Regions from separate parts of the Homo sapiens genome. Here regions 1, 2, 3, 4, 5 and 7 are each linked to region 6. The links are contacts of gene promoters, found by promoter capture Hi-C in blood cells and fetal thymus (Javierre and others, 2016). All regions are on one chromosome and are shown on one strand. Each heading gives the region's core, a stretch centred on a gene start or on the middle of the fragment in contact. The rest is flanking DNA. Distances are from core to core; before and after follow the strand shown.

Region 1 (2,812 bases), core at 183-2,682, 400 kb before region 6:
TCCAGACTTGTTCTCTAAAACCAATTATTGCTCCATTAAGAAACATTTTTACATCTTCTTCAGGAATGTCGTTGTCTGCTGGGTCTTCCCCTCTTCATTCCCCCAAGATTACTCCACATACTTCTCCTGCTCCCAGAAGAAGAAGTCACACTCCAAATCCAGCAAGTTACATGGTGCCTTCTAGTGCCTCTACATCTGTTAATAATCCTGTTTCTCAGACTCCGTCTTCTGGTCAGGTGATCCAAAAGGAAACTGTTGGTGGGACGACTTACTTCTATACAGACACAACTCCAGCACCTTTGACTGGAATGGTATGTCTACATTAAAGAGGAAATTTTAGTACTCTCTTGTAACAGGACCTTCTTAGTTGTGAGGCGGTCTACCCCCTCCTGCAGCTTTTTATTGTGATGCAAAAAAGTATTTCATTTTCTAACTTAGATGAGAAGTCTAGTCTCTTCTTCTCAACTCTTCAAATTAATCTAGTTCTGCCTTACTAATAATTCTAGTTTTGGACTAAACTGGTTTAATCAGAAATTAGATTATATCCATGCTCTTATTTTAGTCTTTATGGCATGTTTTGCTTATGGGTTTACCTTGTACTAGCTGGAATTGATGCCTGCTGACATTTGTTTATAGGTATAGATAGTTTAACCTCAGTAAGAAGCTAGAAAAAGTAGATGGTATGTCCTCAGTAGTTACTGGAAGCAAATCAATGATAAACCCTTATTTCAGATGAGGTAGTTATTTAACAGCTAGATCTGTGGATGGTGGAGTGACACATAATGATAAGGGGCCTGCAGTATGGCTCTTATGCTCAGGAGATAGAGTAGTCAGACCCAAGAGAGCCATGATTGTAGATGACGAAAGAGCTACCAAAGGACTGGCGATGAAGTGAGGGAAGAATCGTGAAACAAATGGGAAGAGGTGGCCCCAGAGGAAACATGAATATTAAGACCAAAAGAGGAAGAACATGGCCAGAAAGAAAGATTTCTTATCAGAGTCAATTAGTAATGTTCCAGGAGAGGGAGAAGGAACAGGAGTCAGGGGGCGAGAATGAATGGGGAAGGAGAGGGAAGGATTCCATGTTACGTAAATTGTACCTTTTTTAGCTTCATTACTTCATCCATATTCAAAAATTATTTTATTTACCCTAGAAAAATAAGTAGTAGATGAAGTGAGTGAGAAAGTCAGAGTCCACTAAAACAGGGGTCCTCAATCCTTGGACCAGAGACCAGTGTTAGGAACCAGGCCGCACAGCAGGAGGTGAGCAGTGGGCGAGTAAGTGAAGTTTCATCCGTATTTACACCCACTCCCCATTGCTCTCATTACCATCTGAGCTCCTCCTCCTGTCAGATCAGCAGAGGCATTAGATTCCATAGGAACATGAACCCTATTGTAAACTATAAATATATTGTAAAATACATATATATTTTATATATATGTAAAGTTATTAAATTATATAAATATATATTATATATATTATATATAATTAATATATATTATATATAAATTATATATAATATATAATTAATTATATATTATATATAAATTATATATAATATATAATTAATATATAAAATTATATAAATATATATATTTTTTGAGATGGATGTTCGCTATTTCACCCAGGCTGGAGGGCAGTGGTTCAGTCTTTGTTCACTGCAGCCTCCGCCTCCTGGGTTCAAGCATTCCTCTCACCTCAGCCTCTAGTAGCTGGGACTACAGACGCACACCACCATGCCTGGCTAACTTTTGTATCTTTAATAGAGATGAGGTTTCACCCAGTTGATCAGTTGGCCAGGCTGATCTCAAATTCTTGACCTCAAATGATCCGCCCACCTTGGCCTCTGAAGTGCCGGGATTACAGGCGTGAGCCACCATGCCCAGCCTAAACTATGCTATCTTATGTAAGGAAACCAACACAAGAAAAAAGAGATATTATTCTCCCTGCAGACACAGGCTAAAGGAAACCTTACAAGTATCACAAAACTGCTTCCTAGTTGAGATGCAGAGCAGAGCAGTCATGTTAGGGCAGCGCAAATCAGCTGAATTCGTTTTTAAAAGAGAAAAAAGGTTTCATTGTTTAAAATGAAAGAATGAAAAAATAGAAAAGATATTTAAAACTGAACTTTGATTTTGTATCATGGACCAGTGAAGGAGAGGCAGAGAAAAGAGTGATAAAGAGAACAAAGGGTGGTGGGATGAGTCCAGTTGAAAGAATGAAAGACAAGAAGCTGGAAGCTGATTTAGTAACTTTATTGTAGTTTGCTTGGAAGGTAAATGTATTATTGTATCCTTCTGTTCACTTAAACTGCTGACCTAGAGTAGGTTTGAATAACACTTTGTTTAGTTTGGCCACAAAATGCCTGTGAAAGGGGAAATTCTTTGGGCAGCCAGGGCAATATCACTTCCTTATCTCCCAGTACCCAAACACCTTTAGTTTCTCCTTCCTTCCTTCCAGTTGCTTTCAAAAAGTGGCGATGAACTGCTTGTATAGTTGCCATTTAGTATCCAAGGGGGATTGATTCCCGGACGCCCACAGATAGCAAAATTCCTGGGTGCTCAAGTCCCTGATATAGAATGACATAGTATTTGCATAGATCTTATACACATCCTCCTGTATACTTTAAATTATCTCTAGATTACTTATAATACCTAATGCAGTATAAGTGCTTTGTGAATAGTTGTTATAATGTATTTTTAATTTGTATTACTTCTCATTTGTTGTATTGTCATTTTTTTCCCCTGAATATTTCCTACCCATGGTTGGTCGAATCCTTGAATACAGAACCCAGGGATACAGAAGGCTGAC
Region 2 (2,898 bases), core at 21-2,520, 360 kb before region 6:
AAACAGTAACTGAAGGAGCATGTATAGCTCTTTCCTTCAAATTCAACTAGAGCCTTTTTAAAAAGACATTTGCCTGCTAGTCAGATACATTTACATTTATGCAAATTTTTTAAATAGGAGAAAATTAAGAAATTGTGTTAAAGGCCTAAAGTTCAGGAGTGTATTACTTTAGGTTCTTTCCAGTTTGCTGGTTTTTTTTTTTTTTTTTTTTTTTTTTTTTGGGCGGGGGGGAGGTTTATGAAGTTTTGCTCTTTGAACCACAGCTTTATTATGGTCCTTTACACTGGAGACAGACACAGAGACACTGTTCAGAAGATGAACTAAACTCAGCAGTGGTCTGGTATCAAGAGCTTTCTGATGTTTTACAGCCTGAATTTGGAGGGATAACGATCTGCTGTGCCTTTGCAGTCACTGCTTAGCCCAAAGTAATAGTACTTTTGATAATAACTCACTCTGTGCGATATTCCTGAATAAGTCCATCTCAAAAGTTTGGGATTTTCCTCCTCTTAACTTTCTTAATATTTGGACATGCAGTTGTCGCCAAACTTGGGTATTCATGGAATTTCTAGTAAATGAAATACCTATACTTTGATACTGAAGACTGCCAAATACATAGGAATTTTCTTTCTTAAAAAACAGTAATGAAGACTATATCTCCTTTCCCAGCACTGAATGTTTTACTAGCACTGGGTGCTCACCATGCAACTGAAGAAAATGTGGAAACTCAAAAGGTCAGGACAGACTTCCAAGCACTTGCAACTGATGTTACTGTCTTCAATTTTAATAATTACACATATTTGTATATTTCAGAGAAGTTTTTAATATTTCTCTGTCCACTTTTTATAAGCTTTAAAATGATTTTCTCTGCCTTGAGATTTGCATCAAGAAAAAGCACCTCTCTTCACCTGAAAGCTTTGAAGACTAGAGACACGCTTTACACGTTTTAACAAGTATATTGAGTCCACGTTTGGTAGCATCAGTTGTTGAGTTAAAAAGAAAATTATTGCATTTGATCTGGATGGATTTTAAAAGAATATAATGTTCAATATTAAAAGGATAATTCACATTTGCCACCATAATGTTCTTTTTTATGTAAAAAGAAGAACTTGGAGACATTAACATGAAAAAGTCTTTTATCATTAGCTCATGTATTTGAGGAAGAGCAGCTGTCTTTTTATATGTTTTTTGACAAATCATATTGTATTCTTTTGTACAAAAAAGAACTACTTGTATTCTAGAAGAAATATGAAATGCTTAATTTATAAGCGGGCTGGAGATTTTTTCCAATATTGTTTTCTTTGAAAATGAAAGGGGATCATCTATTTTAGTTTTGGGGTCTGGGAACTTTTTGAAAATTTAATTTGTGGACCAATGTTTTGTGAAAGCTAAAGAGGGCAGGGGTTAAAATAGGGCTTGAATTTCTCATTCTGTATAGACCAGCAAACTTCCCTGTGCAAGGCAAGTTTACATCACAAATCCAAGAATGTTTGCATCCTAAATGCTAGTTTGCTTCAGCCCCTAGTTAACCTCAGGACTTGGTTTGCATATAAAAGGTAGACAGCTGATATGTTTTCATGAATAAATATTGTCAGCCAGAAAAGGTTGGTGTCAGGTAATGCATATTTTTTTAAGCTTTGTTTTATATTTATTTTTCATTTAGTTTTTATTGGGAATGGTTTTCAAAGAACTCTCAGTTCTGCCTAGGTGTTTTTGGGGGAGCCCTGTTTTCCATAGTGTAATTCCATTTAAGAGGTTGTCTAAAAGTCTTTTTAATTAATAGAAAGATTTTAATATCCAAGAGTAGTCAAATTAAGGATATAAACTTTCCACACCTTCCTGTCGTGACAGATAAAAGCACAGAAAGGACAACCCTTGAAATCATGTAACGTTGGTCATTTCAATATTTTGTACCTGTTTTAAATTCTGTTAGTGTATTTACTTCATTGTAAATATTTTTGAGGGTACCTTTGTATTTTGCTTTTGACCTTGGTTCTGTGATTTGGATGTCAACAACTTCCCTAAAAAGCACCAGTGTGTTAGGTTCTAATGTCATGACCCAATTTGTGTTATTCATCTTTAATCCTGTTTTCAGTCTCTATGTGTACAGCAGTATTTTTAATAAAGAATTACAGAGATAAATTTGTCCTTTTCTTGCACGTGTTCATATAACAAGATGATGATTATCTTATGATTGGATTTTAAAAGATTGGTTATTTCCTCTGTATTTTGGAGGAATTTTTGTATTTGGATGAAATGGCAGCAGATTTATTCATTAATTTATCAGGTAGTCCTTAAGTCTTATCTACTGTGTCCTTGGATCTGTTCTAGGCACTAAGACAGATACAGGGACTTGGTATTTACAGAATGTATAGTTATACCCAAACATCTTAATACAATACATGACTAACAATGTAGTTTAGGAGAGAAGACTACTCACGAGAAAGCATAAGGGGTCTGCCATGTGTATGTCTGGTGGTAAAGTATTCCAGGTAAGGGAATGTTTCAGAGCCTTTGCGGAACAGCAGGGGAGCGAATGTGGCTAGAGCCAAGTTAAGTAGGAAGTGACGTCAGAAAGGTCTATAGGGAAGGGGTGTGTCCTGTGGACCATTTTAAGTATTTTGGCTTTTACCCTCAAAAGAGGAAGCCGTGCCGGGCGCAGTGGCTCACGCCTGTAATCCCAGCACTTTGGGAGGCTGAGGTGGGCAGATCACGAGGTCAGGAGATCGAGACCATCCTGGCTAACATGTTGAAACCCCCTCTCTATCAAAAATAAAAAAATTATCCAGGCGTGGTGGCAGGCGCCTGTAGTCCCAGCTACTCGGGAGGCTGAGGAAGGAGAATGGCGTGAACCCAGGAGGCAGAGCTTGCAGTGAGCCTAGATCGCACCACTGTACTCCA
Region 3 (2,801 bases), core at 70-2,569, 380 kb before region 6:
TCATGAATATAACTTGGAATGTTTTACTTGATCTAAAGTGTGATTGAGAGGAATTCTTTTTGGAGTTCATCACAGTGTCCTCCAGCAAACAGAAATGATGGCAACAGTAATAGTTCTCCTTCCCATGCCAGCTTCCCTCCTGCCATTCTGGGCTCCTGACTCTATCACCAGTGAAGTTTTAAAAGTTTTCTGGGATGAATCTTTGAATCTTTTCTAATAGATTCAAAGTAGTTTGTCTACCTAATCAGTCTGTCTCCTTATCTCATGTTCAGTGTCAGATTCACAAATGCTAGTTTTGGATAAATTTTTTAGTATGAACTTTTAAATGTTATTTTAGTAATGGAGTTTAACGTCTTTTTACTCATTATTTGGGTAGGCTGTTGTTAAGTATAACCATATAATGCTAGAATTTCACTAATGATTGCCTTAAAGTTACAAATATTCCAACAAACCAGTGGTTCTCAATCCTGGCTGCATATTACCATCATTTGTGGAAGCTTAGAAAAATACCAATACCTAGATTTTTATCCCAGACTAATTATACCAAAATTGGGACGAGGGGATGGCTACTGCTGATTTTGGTTTTGTTTTTAAGCTTCTCAAGTGATGGTAATATACAGCTATGCTTGAAAATTCCTTATAATAAACGAATGTTCAGTAAATGAACGTGTGTCTAATAATTTAGATGAGTTCTCAGATTTTAAAGATCTGCAAATGTCTGTTGTAGAAATTGCTTCAGGTGGTTTCATGTTAACTCTGAAGTACTCCATTCTTGAAGGCATGTGGTTGTTAATAGCTTCCTACCAATCAGGGCCACTTGGGATGACCATACTGTTTCCTGGAGTTATAATAGGTGATAAAGGACTTAATTCAGCCAGCTGTCTTTTGAAAATCCTTTTAGAAGGAAAGCCTCAGAATGGTAAATCTTGAGTGGGAGAGGTTTTAGGAAAGCAGGTGGTGGTTCCAGAGCTCAAAGATCTGTTAGAGTGTGAGGAAAAATAGTCTATTTGGAAACAAAGATAGATGGGATGTCATTCATTGAGGTTTGCAGCATTTTTGATGTTCTAGAGAATTTGCTCTAAAATCTGGTTAATGCTAATGTTTGTAATAGGATAACTTTTCTTCAGATAATCCTTCACATTCCCACTATATTCTGGGAGTTACAGAAAATGAGCAAAGTATGTATGTTAAGTTATAGTGGTCATAGCAAAGCAAATGTATAGTAACCTTAAATTTGTTGTAATAGAGAAGAATATTACCTCTATTTAAATAAGAAAAAATTAGAAAAACTTTTTAAAAGTGGCAATTTGTAGTTGGCATGGGAATTGCTTAAAGTCTCTTAAGGCGTGGACCTAGAACTACCTTCATCAGAATTACCTGGGTGCTTTAAAAATGTTGAGCCATTTTCTGGACCCACCCAATGAGAATCTCTGGTAGAGAGGCTCGAAGTCGTCTTTTTAATAAGCTCCAGGTTATTCTGAGAATCACCAGTATTTGAGGACCCTGCCTGCAGCTTATTTATAATGATGCTTTTTCCATTTAGGCAGTAGTGTCAGTGTATTAAATGAGTACCTGTGAAATGAAAATTAAAAGTTATATTTATTCTTTCATGTCAGCAAGCAGATCTGATATCATTAGGAAAAGTTGTGTTGGCTTTGGCTTGCAACTCTTTGGCAGGAATTCAGCGAGAGAATTTACAGAAAGCCATGGAACTGGTGACAATCAACTATTCCTCTGACCTGAAGAATCTGATTTTGTAAGTTTTAATATATGATAAATTGTACAGAATGATTATTTGCGATAAGACAGAGCTTTTTTTGTTTTAAGTGATTGTTTTGGTTCCCACTATTTAAAATCAAGCAAAACAGAAACTTTATGTCTTTATTTTTATTGCAAAGTAAATATTTCTTAGATAAATTGATAAACCAGTGTGTTTAAATTAGTTATTGATGTTTTAAACATTTGGTTAAAGGGCACCCAGTAGAAGTTTGTTGGTATCCACTAGCTACATGTGACCTTTTACATTGATATTAATTGAAATTTAAAGCTTACTTCTTCAATTACACTAGTCACATTTCAAGAGCTCAGCAGCCACATGTAATTACTGGCTAATATAATTGGACAGCACAGACATAGAATATTTCCCTCATCTTGGAGTTCTGTTGGATAGTGCTGCTCTAGAGAGTGTGAAAGCCATCATGAGTAAGCCTCAGGTGCAATCCAGTCATGTACTCTGGCCAAAATACCCATTCTGGAAAGCATTTGTGTGGAGACCCCCATGCTTACACTCCAGTATCTTAACGCTCCAGAGAATCCTTGAGTATCGATTTGAGATGAATTTGGCTTAAGAGAAACCCATTGTGTGGACTACTGTCACAACAGAAGGACTTCTCCGTAAGATATAGCTACTATTGGGAGATCCCAGAGGGTGGGCAACCACGACCTTTATTACAGTTATGAGCTATATTAGAGAAGAGGTGCTAATCAACAGTCTCTTTTAGCTTACAGCTGCCCATTCTGATCTTTCTGTGTAGCCCTGGATGATCCAGTTTCTTTTTGGACCAGCCCTGGGGTATGAATTGGGGGATGGAGGGTGGGATTGCCCACCTGTTCTTTGTTACACTGGCATAAATGTCCTACTTGTGACAGCACTAGAAGCCAGTGGTTGTCTGGATCCTATTCATAATCAAATTCAAATAAGATGATTTATCTTCTGAATAAAAATACTTGTTTTATATATGATCACAACAGTGATTCCTAGCCTTAGTTTGCAAATACCTAGGATGCCTCAAATAATTTCA
Region 4 (2,700 bases), core at 111-2,610, 430 kb before region 6:
GAGATATTTTCTCATTTGCATCTTTTGTAATGACTTTAAAAATATCACCAAAGCAGCTGCAATAACTGATTTATCTAGCGTCAGGGGAAATGAATCTTTCCAGCATACTTGAATTTTTTGGGTATCAGAAGCTTACAGTTTTAATTGTCAGAACTTTATATTTTCCAAAATTTTTCCATAGTACTCTCTGGCTTAAAACAAAATATAATCTTATTTATTGATGACTCTTGTTCAACTATATGTGCCTCAGTAATTGTATTGAACCAGAATACACTGACTCTTTACATATCCAAGTTTGTAGAGGAGTTTATTTCAAGTTATGTGATTACTTAGATTTGTTATTCTTTCCACTGGTCTTCTGCTCCAATGAATTAGTTATAACTTTTTGAAGGTAAGGTCTTTCTCTTGCTTCTGAGTCTCTTAAAGTGCCTGAAAGTAGTGCCTTGAATGGCCATAATCTGGCAAGCTTACTTTGATCATTTTTTTTGTTTTTATTGGCTTTTTTATTGGTAATTCTGTTGTGCTGTTTGTGACAGTGATTCTCAAATTTCAGTCTACCAGAATCACCTAGAGGCTTGTTAAACTCCAGCATTTGCGTGGTTCCATCCCCAGAGTTTCTGATTTAGTAGCTCTGGGTGAACCAGGGAAGATTTGCTTTTCTGATGTGTTCCCAGGTGTTGCTGATGCTGCTGCTTGTCCTGGGACTTCATTTTGAGAATGACTGCTCGATTTAGAACTTTTGTCATTCTTATCTCCTCTTTCCTCTTAATCTCCCTTTCTCATCCTCCTCCTAATCTGCTGAGAGCTAAGAACACAAAGATATCTTTTAGTACCTCTTTTTTTTTTTCTTTTTTTTTAAATGAGAAAAAGGCTTTGAGTCAAGGACTTGAATTGTTTCCTGTGAATAAGGTACATGAGCTTTATATTATCCTTTGGCTGAGGCTAGTATCACTTCATTTCTGGTTAATGTCTGTGTTCTGAATAACTAGAGTTATTGTTGAATTCATGAATATAGGAGTTGCCGATGCTTAGTCATGAATAAATCTGGGAAACGGATTCCTTCCACCTTGGTAATGTTAGTGAGACAAAATATAAATTAGTTACTATAACTTTTAGTTTTTCAAAATACTTAGGAAATGAGTAGCATAAGTACTGTGGCTGTTTAAAATATAAAACCCTCAAGCAGAGTTCCATGGATGGAAAAAAAAAACAACCCTATGGTTCTGGAACTAGTAATCAGATATCTTTTATTTACATGTTACACTTTAATATGTATGTTTTTAAATTGTTACAAAAAAATCAACTAAATTGTTCACATGAGAACATGTCCTGGCAAAAAAAGAAAGAGAAAATAAGAGAAAACAACTAAATTGTTGTTAATGTTAGATAAATAAGAGGCACTTATTGATTCAACCACAGTTTTCTGGAGATCAACTTTAATTTTTGTTTGTACTTTGGTGGTAGCTTTTTTCATTGGAAAGAAATCCAAAATTAAAATTACATTGTTAACTAAATCTTACTTTTTTGTGTGAATTTTTGTAATTAATTTTCATAAGACACTCTTGTCTTTAAGTTTCTTGTTTGTAAACAACACAACACAATTTATCACTATGAATGAAGGACACCATTTACTCAAACAGTCACTACCACTCAAGAAGAAAAAAATGGTTCTTTTCAACCAAAACAGTTATATTTAGTAGCTAACACCTTTCTTCCCTCTGTTTTGATGCTTCGTTTAAGTAAGTGTTATTATTTAAAAGATTGCCACCATTGTAGAGTCTAGGGAGATCCCATCATTTTAGATCATTTGGCCAAGTTTGGGGACAAGCAGGTAGGTTACTGTTTTGTTTCTTCAAACATAGAGACCGAAGTAAGTAACCTACTATTATAGGCCAGTGGGTAAGATTCCTACTAGTATAGTTAAAACCCTGATGCTGGTTTTTTAAAATATGTTGAATTATTCATGTTTTTGGGATTTAGGCACTGCACTTTATACAATCAATAGTCTAATGATATTTGTTAAATTAATTAATGACAGTTCATCTAGAAATGACACCATTAATACAGGCAAGACTGAAGTTATGTCAAAGGGAAGATTACTATGTGTAGACCAGGAAAACAAAGTAGTTGTGCAGGCTGTGATCTCTATCAAATATTGAGGACTGTGTGTTTGATAAAGCTCAGGTTAAATTCATCATATAAATTGACATTATGTGCCTGAGTTTGGTCAATAAGATTAAATACATTTTATGAGAAAGCTTTAAGGTACTTAATTATTTTGTTAATGCTTACAGTATTTCTAATACCAGATAGTCTTAAGTATCTATCATAGATAGATATTCAGCCAAAATGAAGTAGGATTATATAAATTAGTTGATGAAATTCTGTAGTTATTAAGGGGAAAATCAGAGATGGAAATTAAGTTGCAATTATTTGGGTTAGATCCACATGGCCTCTATTAAAGGTGATTTACATGTAAAAATAAGTCTAGGCAACACAGCATGACCTGGTCTCAAAACAAATAAACAACAACCATAGGCAGGTATGGTGGCACACACCTGTAGTCCCAGCTACTTGGGAGCTTGAGGCGGGAGGATTGATTGAGCTCAGGAGTTCAAGGCTGGAGTGAGCTATGATCACACAATTGATCTCCAGCCTGGGCAGCACAGTGAGACCCTGTCTCTGAAAATGAAAATAAAT
Region 5 (2,985 bases), core at 134-2,633, 460 kb before region 6:
ATGGAGTCTCACTCTGTGGCCCAGGCTGGAGTGCAGTGTCATGATCTCGGCTCACTGCAGTCTTTGCCTTCCAGGCTCAAGTGATTTTTCTGCCTCAGTCTCCCAAGTAGCTGGGATTACAGACATGTGCCACCATGCTTGGCTAATTTTTGTACTTTTGGTAGAGATGGGCTTTCACCATGTTGGCTAGGGCTGGTCTCGAACTCCTGACCTCAAGTGACCCACCACCTCGGCTTCCCAAAGTGCTGGGATTAAGGCATGAGCCACTGCACCCAGCCTTGTCCTCTTTAAATCAAAGACAGTATAGCAGATGCACACTTGTGGAGTGGAGAATCTAATTTGCATGGAATAATTTACATAGGCATTATTTGCAAGATTTTGAAATTTGGAAATTATGTCTTTTTTAAATTGGTTCTCTTTATACTAGAAAACATTATTAATATATTTGACTGGCTATAGGTTTTTTTTTGTTTTTTTTTTTTTAATAGAGACAGGGTCTTGCAATGTTGCCCAGGCTGTTCTGGAGCTCCTGGGCTCAAGTGATCCTCCTGCATCAACCTCCAAAGTGCTGGGATTACAGGCATGAGCCACCATGCCTGGCCAGCATCTTTTTTTGAAGAAACTTAATTTTAACTCTTTGTTTCAGCAGTCTTATACCTCATGACAGAACAATGAGTAAACATATATTTTCTTATTTCAGAGTTTAAATTAATTACCTTCCTAAGCATGAATTAGTGTTTTCTGAAGGGAAAAAATACATACAAGTTTTCCTTAAGATGCAGTCTAGTGCAAATTTGCTGTAATTAAGAGAAGTGAGATAGTGGAAACAAGCACTAATTTTCATGAATAAAAGTCCTGCTAACCACTATTAAGATAGCTTATTAATTTTCTTATAATGTTAGGCAAATAATTTATGATTTTATTGAATAATTTATTCATTATCAATCTGTTCATATTATTGAGATTTAAAAGACCAATTTGTGTTACTGTTTTGTTGTTGTTTTTTAGTCTGAGGTTTTTTTTTTTCATTGAATACTTTAGGGTGAATGCCTATTTAAGATAGAGTGAGTTGTACTCAAGTCTAACGTGCATAGAATTAAAATTTTTTAAAAATCAATTTATTAGGAAACAACTGCGTTTTTAAAAGTGGGTTAGTTCTCAGTAGGAAATAAAGTAACAAGATGGTGAGCTGAAAAAGTTGTAGTTTGGCGAACTTTATAAAAAAGAAAAATCTGTATTCTGTGTCCTTGAAACCATTTCTTCATATTGCAGTGAGAATAGGTAAGTGACAGTAGAAAAAATTTTGCAAAGCATTTTTCTTTGCTGATAAGTTAAATTTCTATTCATTAAGTAAAGTCGTATAAAATCAGATTAAATGTATTTTTCTAAAAACATCTGTTGCTTTATATAATATTCTTTAGCCCATTAGGAGTGTGGGTTATTTTGGAGGTGTGGGTTTGGTGCAGGGGTGGGAGGTGGTGGGTGGTGGTAAGGATATTAGAAGGAGTGTTTTAGAAACTTGTTTCCTATCCCACCGTTCCCAGTATCCTGTATATGTTAGTTATGTTAGTTTAGATTAGTGTGGGGGATGTTAGGAGTGGCCTGGTTTCTTTCCTTCTTTTTCCTAGCCAAGGAAGTATCGCCTGGGGATGCTGGAGGAGAGGCTAGTTCCGATGGGATCAAAGGCACGAAAAGCAAAGAACCCTATTGGCTGCCTTGCTGACAGGTGTAAATCAGGAGTACCCATCAATATGGTTTGGTGGAACAGAGTCACAGAAAACAATTTACAGGTAAAAATAATTTTTATTAGACATTTCTTGAAAGTGAATGTCTTGGCTGCTTTCTGTGTCTGTTTGGGGTGGTGGTTGTGAAAGGATTGGATGACTTAGCTGGTATACTTAGGTAATTAAAAAAATTTTTAATCAGAATAAAGTTAGTGACCCTTAACCAACTAAATGATTTTTTCTTGGTGGCTTTTTGAGCTTTTCCTCTTTGTAGAATATTTTACTTTTGTTTGTTTGTTTTTTGTTTTTTCAGACAGAGTCTCACTCTGTCCCCCAGGCTGGAGTGCAGTGGCACCATCTTACCTCACTGTAACCTCCACCTCCCAGATTCAAGATACCATGCCTCAGCCTCTCAAGTAGCTGGGACTGCAGGTGCACACCACCATGCCTGGCTAATTTTTTGTATTTTTAGTAGAGATGGGGTCTCGCCATGTTGGCCAGGCTGGTCTCGAACTCCTACCTCAGGTGATCTCTGCCTTGGCCTCACAAAATGCTGGGATTGCAGGCATGAGCCACCTCTCCTGGCCGAATATTTTACTATATTTAGTTAAATTTAGTTTTTCTGTTTTCAATTTTGTTAATACTTGAGTTCAATTATTTTTACTACCCAAGAGTTATTCAGGATAGGACTACATTGAAGAGTCATATAAGGCCGGGCATGGTGGTGCACGCCTGTAATCCCAGCACTCTGGGAGGCCGAGGAAGGCGTATCACCTGAGGTCAGAAGTTTAAGACCAGCCTGGCCAACATGGTGAAACCCCGTCTCTACAAATATACAGAAAAGAAAAGAAAAATTTTAGCCAGGTGTGGTGGGGAGCACCTGCAATCCCAGCTACTCGAGAGGCTGAGGCAGAAGAATGGCTTGAACCTGGGAGGCGGAGGTTGCAGCAAGCCGAGACTGCACCACTGCACCCACTCCAGCCTGGGCAACAGAGCGAGATTCTGTCTCAAAAAAAAAAAAAGAGTCGTATAAAATTTATTACACAAAGTCACATTTATTTGGAAATCTGAAGAACAAGATGCTTCATATGTTGTCTTTTTAACATTTTTACTAGGAAACAAAAATTATATGTAAACAAACTTGTCAAGAGTTGCTCTAAAACTAACTTCAATAGTATGTTGTCATAGAGTCATTACAAATACATTCCATCTTTGACTGTACCTTTTTTGTCAATACTGAATAATGCAAATGAAAATTTAT
Region 6 (2,833 bases), core at 210-2,709:
AAAAAGATGCAAACGAAACACTCCAACTCAAATCTCAGGATTAAACATGGCTATTGTGAAGGACCAGAAGACACCTAAAGGACAGCATGGCAGAACACATAACATCTGGAACTTCAAAGTTGTATGACCATGGCAGTGGATATACATAACATATATGGCCTTATCATTTTCCTCTCTCAAATCCTTCGATGGCTTTTTAAAGACAAAGCCTCATCCTTAATCTTGCCTACAAAGGCTGCATAAAAAACCTGTAGCTAGGTCCCATGATGCACGCCTGTAGTTCCCATTACTCAGCCGGCTGCAGCAGGAGAATCGCTTGAGCCCAGGAGTTCAACGCAGACCTGGGCAACATAGCTAAACCCTATCATTATTTAGAACAAACAAACAAAAACAACAACAAAAACCACTTGCCTCCATCTACTTACAACCTCATCTCACAGTACTCTCCACTTTACTTTCTGAACTTTAGCCAGACTTAGGCCTTCTTTCCAGTTCCGTTTTTGCACAAGCAGATCTGCACGTAATGTTGTTTTAAATATCCTACTACCCCAAACTAGTTCGCTCTTATCTTTTAGCTGTCAGTCCAAAGATTCCCTAAGATGTCTCCATCCTGTGGCAGCAGACTATAAGGCCGTTTTATTACATTATATTTGAACAATACAGAATAGTGTAATGAGCATGGATTCTAGACTCATAAATATGTCCTTAGGCATATTTATTTAAGCCCTTCATGTCTCGGTTTCTTCACCTGTAAATTGTACTTGTAAGGTTATTGAAAAGATTAAAAGAGATAAAGGATGTAAGCACTTAGAACTGTGTTGATAACGCAATTCAAAGGGCCCAACATATGTCGGTCATGATCACATTTACTTAATTTGTAGTCACTATCGTCCCCTCTCTCCCCTCTAGCCTCCGGAGTACCCCTGCTCCTCTAGCCCAGAGGCCACACCGGCCTGGTCCTTTTTTGTATTCCTAGCCTCAGCACAGGGTTCGGAACATACCAGGCCTTCAATATTATGTTTTTTAAAAATGACAAAAGCCTTGTGTCCCAATTTTGCTTTATTAGCCGAACGATCTCAAGCAAATCACTCAAACCACCTACGCCTCGTTTACCCTTCTGTGAAATGTAATAGCTACCTCAGAGAGGTTTTGTGTTAAATAAGGCGATGTACCTACAAAAGCACACTGCACATCTTAAAATGCCGTACAAACCGTAGATGTTTATTAATAAACCGGAGTCCGTGTCTTCCCTCCCCTCAGGCACGTCTCGTCCCGACCCCTCCCTCCTCCCAGCCCACACCCTTACTGCGCCCTTGGCCCTGGGTCCCTTGGGATTGCAAGCGTGGGAGCCTCGGCCCCGCGCAGCTCCCTCCGGCGTCCCGCGCCCTCCTTCCTTCCTCGCCAGGACGGACGCACTTCCGGCGGATGTGGGGGCCAGCCCTCGGAAACGGAAGTGAGCGGCGGGGTCGACTGACGGTAACGGGGCAGAGAGGCTGTTCGCAGAGCTGCGGAAGATGGTGAGTGGGTACCCGGGCGGCTGGAGTTCCACGCGGGCTCGGGACCGTGGCTCGGCAGAAACAGGCAGTCGCCTCCCAACCCGTCCCCGGTGGCGGCGGCGGCGGCAGCGTGGGGCTGAGGCCGGCCTCAGGCGCCATAATCTGTCGAGTCACGGGGTTTGGGTGGGTCGTGACTGTCGCCGGGGCCCGGCACTAGTCCCACTAGCAGTGCTTCGGCTTCATCCTGCTCCTCTTAGCTCGGTTTGCGCCCTTCCATCCCTTAGACCCCAGCAGGCCCAGACCTCCTCCCCTTACTTGGCGCAGAAGTGGAAAAGGCAGCCGTGAAAGTGCAACGTTCTGTGGGGTGGCGCTGGCGACCCTTTCCTTGACGGGTAACCTCTGGGAGCCCAGAGCTCTCAGACTCCTCATCTCCCCCAGCCCCCGCCCTTGTAACTGCCTAGTAAACAGCCCACAACTATAGGTCGCATTTGTGTAACGCAGCTTTGCTCTACAAACTTTTTTGAGAGCTTGTAGTGTGCTAGATGTTAGAGGGGAAAAAATCAGACAGTTGCTATTCCCTGTTTGCCAGTATTGTTAGTATATCTCCTCCCTCCTTCTCCTCCCCACCACTTTCTCTTTCTTTTTAACTTAGAAGTTGTGGTATTTGAGAAGAACACTGAGTCACCATTGCCACAGACTCTGATATCGGTACTGCTGGTAGGCCATCCATCCAAATCTAGAAAGTTTCTATTGGTAAATACTGCTAATCGTTATCTAAAAAGTTTTTTAGGCACTCTCAAATGTAACTAGTAGTTAGGTTTTCGTAGATTTGCCTTTCTCGGCTCCTTCCTTTATTAGAAACAGCAAGTACTAATCTTGATATTTTACAGAAGGAAATTGGGAAAAATGACAATAACAGAATCCAGAAGTCAGAATTCACCTTTTCTTTGTGCGTTGAAACCTTGTTACTTTACAATAAAGCAGTCCAGAAGGAGGAGAATGTTCATATAGGGAAGTAATAGAAGATACATTTGGAAAGCAACAATCACACATCTCTGCTGAAGGTCCCCAACTTCTGGTGGTTCAACAATCTTCTGACTTTATGATGGTGTGAAATCCATACACAGTCAGTAGAGGCCATATTTGAGTACCAATACAGCCATTCTGTTTTTCACTTTCAGTACAGTATTCAATAAATTACATGAGATACCCAGTACTTTTTAATAAAGTAGGCTTTGTATTAGATGATTTTGGCCGACTGTAGGCTAGTGTAAGTGTTCTGAGCACATTTAAGGTAGGCTAGGCTAAGGCCTGATGTTTAGTAGGTTAGGTGTGTT
Region 7 (2,700 bases), core at 81-2,580, 500 kb before region 6:
GTAATAATTTCTTCGAATAGTTTAGTACTAGGAAAAATGGTTTTTGCTCAAACAAATTGGTATTTGTTATTTTACTAAGCAAGCAATTTTTAAACTTCCATTTTCCCTTTTTTTATCTTGTCTGTTTCAAAATGTCTGAGCTTAATGTTTGACTGAAATATTTTTATTAACCTGTATTTTTAGTTTAATCTATATTTAATCTTTTATTATGTGGCTCTATTGTATGTTTTCGGGGGCGGGGAGCTTACACAACAGAAATTTATTGTCTCAGGTTTGGAGGCTGAAAGTCTAAGATCAAGGTGTTGGCTGGATTGCCTTCTTCTGAGGGCTGTGGAGGATAATCTGTTCCATGTCTTTCCCCTTAGCTTTTGGTTTGCTGACAATCTTGGACATTTCTTGGCTTGTAGAAACATCTTCCCAATCACTCCTGTCATCTTTACTTGATGTTTTCCCTTTGTGTGCATCTGTGTTCAAATTTCCCTTTTTTATAATGTCACCAGTCATACTGGATTAGGACTGCCCTAATGACCTCATCTTTAATTATATCTGCAGTGACTCTATATTCAAATGAGGTCACATTCCAAGGTACAGGGGATTAAGACTTCAGCATAGGAATGTGGTGGGGGTTGGGAGGGACAGTTGAACTTCTAACAGTTGTGTGGTTAAACAAATGAGATAATAACCTGAAATGCCTTATGGAGCTTCGGAGTTAGGTAGAGAATTGAGAATTTGAACTTGTTCTCTTCATGACTGTCTCCACAGAAGCTTTATCATAAGGGCAGGAAGCACAGTGTTTATAGTCATTAATTGCTGTTTTCTGACAGTTTGACTTTTTCCTTGGTTTGTGAACTTTCGAGGGAGTTCCAGCTCTTCAAACAGACAGTATGTCTTGTCCACCTGCTTTGGATTTGAGTCTTGTTTTACAGACAGCTTCTGTGGGTTTTATAACAGATGTGTAAAATATTCCAGCCTACCTTTTTATCATTTATTTTAAAATTAAAAAGAGAAAAACCTACATGGAAAGTTTTTCCTAACACACTCTATTACAAAGAGCATATTAGTGTTTCATCAGAAAAAGCAGGCTACTTTTTGCAAATAAATAAGTAGATTTGGCACCTAATATCAACTGGGCATGCCAGTATACTGAATTAACACAACAACCTTGGAAAGTAGATGCTACTGTTTTAGTGTTACAGAGGAAGAAACTGAGACTTAAGTATACTGTTGAAGGTTAGTAGTTGGCAACTGGCTGAAACAGACCTCATGGTCAGTATTTGTTAAAAGTCTATGCTCATTCCACAATCCGATAAAGAAAAGGATGGTGTGAGTATCTGCTGAGGGGGTAGAGGAGCCCCTGTTTCTTGGGCCTGCACTCACTGTACTGTCATCTGGCATCTCTGAGGTCTCAGTTTCCTCATTGGAAAAGTGGAGGCAATCAGCCGGGTGCCGTGGCTCATGCCTGTAATCCCAGCACTTTGGGAGGCCGAGGCGGGTGGATTGCATGAGCTCACGAGTTTGAGACCAGCCTGGGCAACATGGCGAAACCCCACCTCTACTAAAAATACAAAAAATTATATGGGCGTGGTGGCGCACACCTGTAGAACCCAGGAGGTGGAGGTTGCAGTGAGCTGAGATCACGCCACTGCACTCCAACCTGGGCAACAGAGTGAGACTCTGCCTTAAAAAAAAAAAAGCATTTAATTGAAAATAAAAGTTTGTACAAATGTGCTAGGCTGGGCTCAGTAACTCATGCCTGTAGTCCCAGTACTTTGAGGGGCCAAGGAGGGAGGATTGCTTGAATTCAGGAGTTTGAGGCTGCAGTGAGCTGATTATGCCACTGCACTCCAGCCTGGGTGACAGAGGGAGACTTTTTCTCAAAAATAACAACTTGCCACCAAGCTTAAAAAAAAAAAAACCTAACAAAAATGTGCTATTAGATTAAGGAGTACCAAAAAGTGAAAGGTGTGCATAATTACAGATACATACAGTGTAGTTACAGATAATTTAAGGCCGAATGCAGTGGCTTACACCTGTAAACTCAGCACTGTGGGAGGCCAATGCAGGAGGATCACTTGAGCCCAGGAAGTTTTTTTTTTGAGACAGCATCTTGCTCTGTCACCCAGGCTGTAGTGCAGTGGTATGATGACAGCTCACTGCAGCCTCAATTTCCTAAGCCCAGGAGTTCGAGACCAGCAACATAATGAGACCCTGTCTCTACAAAAAATAATAAAAAATAAATTCAAAACAAAACAAAGATAAGATAATTTACATTAGTAGATAGTACAGAAATACCTGAAAATGTAAAGGCTTAAATACTGTAGTTGAAGACAGCAATAAAAAGTCAAAAGGAAGTTTTTTTTTCTCAAATGAGTGATATAAATAGTATCTTAAGAGGTAAAGGTTTTAACAGCTTGGAATAATTGGGGAATACTTTCTAGAGAAGGGCAAATTAAAAAATAATGTTTATGATGACCTGTTAGAAAACATACTAGGCACTTTACATAGATTATTTCATTTGATTCCACACCACAACCCTATGAGTGAGATGGTATTTAACCTCTTTTTTCAGATGAAGAAATGAAATTTACAGTTACTTGCTCATGCTCATATAGTATGTAAATGGCACAAGTAGGACCCAAACTCAATGTGTAACTCCAAGTATTTTTTCTTTCTCATCATACCTGAGTCTTGAGTATGTAT

What was found. The method cuts DNA at HindIII sites, captures the fragments that hold promoters and counts their contacts. A CHiCAGO score of 5 or more calls a contact.
Region 1: a contact is called between a fragment that was not itself captured here and the fragment with the promoter of POMP in region 6, in 1 of 17 cell types (monocytes). The highest score is 5.1, in monocytes.
Region 2: a fragment that was not itself captured here is called in contact with the fragment with the promoter of POMP in region 6 in 6 of 17 cell types (M0 macrophages, endothelial precursors, M1 macrophages and 3 more); the score reaches 7.6 in M0 macrophages.
Region 3: a fragment that was not itself captured here is called in contact with the fragment with the promoter of POMP in region 6 in 6 of 17 cell types (monocytes, megakaryocytes, total B cells and 3 more); the score reaches 10.4 in monocytes.
Region 4: a contact is called between a fragment that was not itself captured here and the fragment with the promoter of POMP in region 6, in 1 of 17 cell types (total B cells). The highest score is 5.3, in total B cells.
Region 5: a fragment that was not itself captured here is called in contact with the fragment with the promoter of POMP in region 6 in 1 of 17 cell types (fetal thymus); the score reaches 6.0 in fetal thymus.
Region 7: a fragment that was not itself captured here is called in contact with the fragment with the promoter of POMP in region 6 in 1 of 17 cell types (fetal thymus); the score reaches 6.1 in fetal thymus.

What each region holds. Positions count from the first base shown.
Region 1 is chr13:28,256,229-28,259,040 of GRCh38, forward strand. It overlaps PAN3 (poly(A) specific ribonuclease subunit PAN3), which reads left to right. Exons shown (of 19, transcript NM_175854.8): 7 at 64-311. Among named protein-coding and RNA genes, the nearest start is that of PAN3-AS1, 120 kb to the left of the region's middle. The HindIII fragment of the contact is 4,854 bases long and covers 1-2,812 here.
Region 2 is chr13:28,293,197-28,296,094 of GRCh38, forward strand. It overlaps PAN3 (poly(A) specific ribonuclease subunit PAN3), which reads left to right. Exons shown (of 19, transcript NM_175854.8): 19 at 1-2,139. Among named protein-coding and RNA genes, the nearest start is that of PAN3-AS1, 160 kb to the left of the region's middle. The HindIII fragment of the contact is 720 bases long and covers 911-1,630 here.
Region 3 is chr13:28,275,621-28,278,421 of GRCh38, forward strand. PAN3 (poly(A) specific ribonuclease subunit PAN3) reads left to right here. Exons shown (of 19, transcript NM_175854.8): 15 at 1,617-1,756. Among named protein-coding and RNA genes, the nearest start is that of PAN3-AS1, 140 kb to the left of the region's middle. The HindIII fragment of the contact is 1,452 bases long and covers 594-2,045 here.
Region 4 is chr13:28,229,219-28,231,918 of GRCh38, forward strand. All of the region lies in intron 6 of PAN3 (poly(A) specific ribonuclease subunit PAN3), which reads left to right. Among named protein-coding and RNA genes, the nearest start is that of PAN3-AS1, 91 kb to the left of the region's middle. The HindIII fragment of the contact is 1,792 bases long and covers 465-2,256 here.
Region 5 is chr13:28,195,557-28,198,541 of GRCh38, forward strand. It overlaps PAN3 (poly(A) specific ribonuclease subunit PAN3), which reads left to right. Exons shown (of 19, transcript NM_175854.8): 5 at 1,629-1,790. Among named protein-coding and RNA genes, the nearest start is that of PAN3-AS1, 58 kb to the left of the region's middle. The HindIII fragment of the contact is 7,528 bases long and covers 1-2,985 here.
Region 6 is chr13:28,657,671-28,660,503 of GRCh38, forward strand. It overlaps POMP (proteasome maturation protein), which reads left to right and starts at 1,460. Exons shown (of 6, transcript NM_015932.6): 1 at 1,460-1,517. The coding sequence starts at 1,515. RefSeq lists an enhancer at 953-1,112 and a silencer at 1,333-1,392. The HindIII fragment of the contact is 5,788 bases long and covers 1-2,833 here.
Region 7 is chr13:28,160,966-28,163,665 of GRCh38, forward strand. The region is part of intron 1 of PAN3 (poly(A) specific ribonuclease subunit PAN3); the gene reads left to right. Among named protein-coding and RNA genes, the nearest start is that of PAN3-AS1, 23 kb to the left of the region's middle. The HindIII fragment of the contact is 1,134 bases long and covers 764-1,897 here.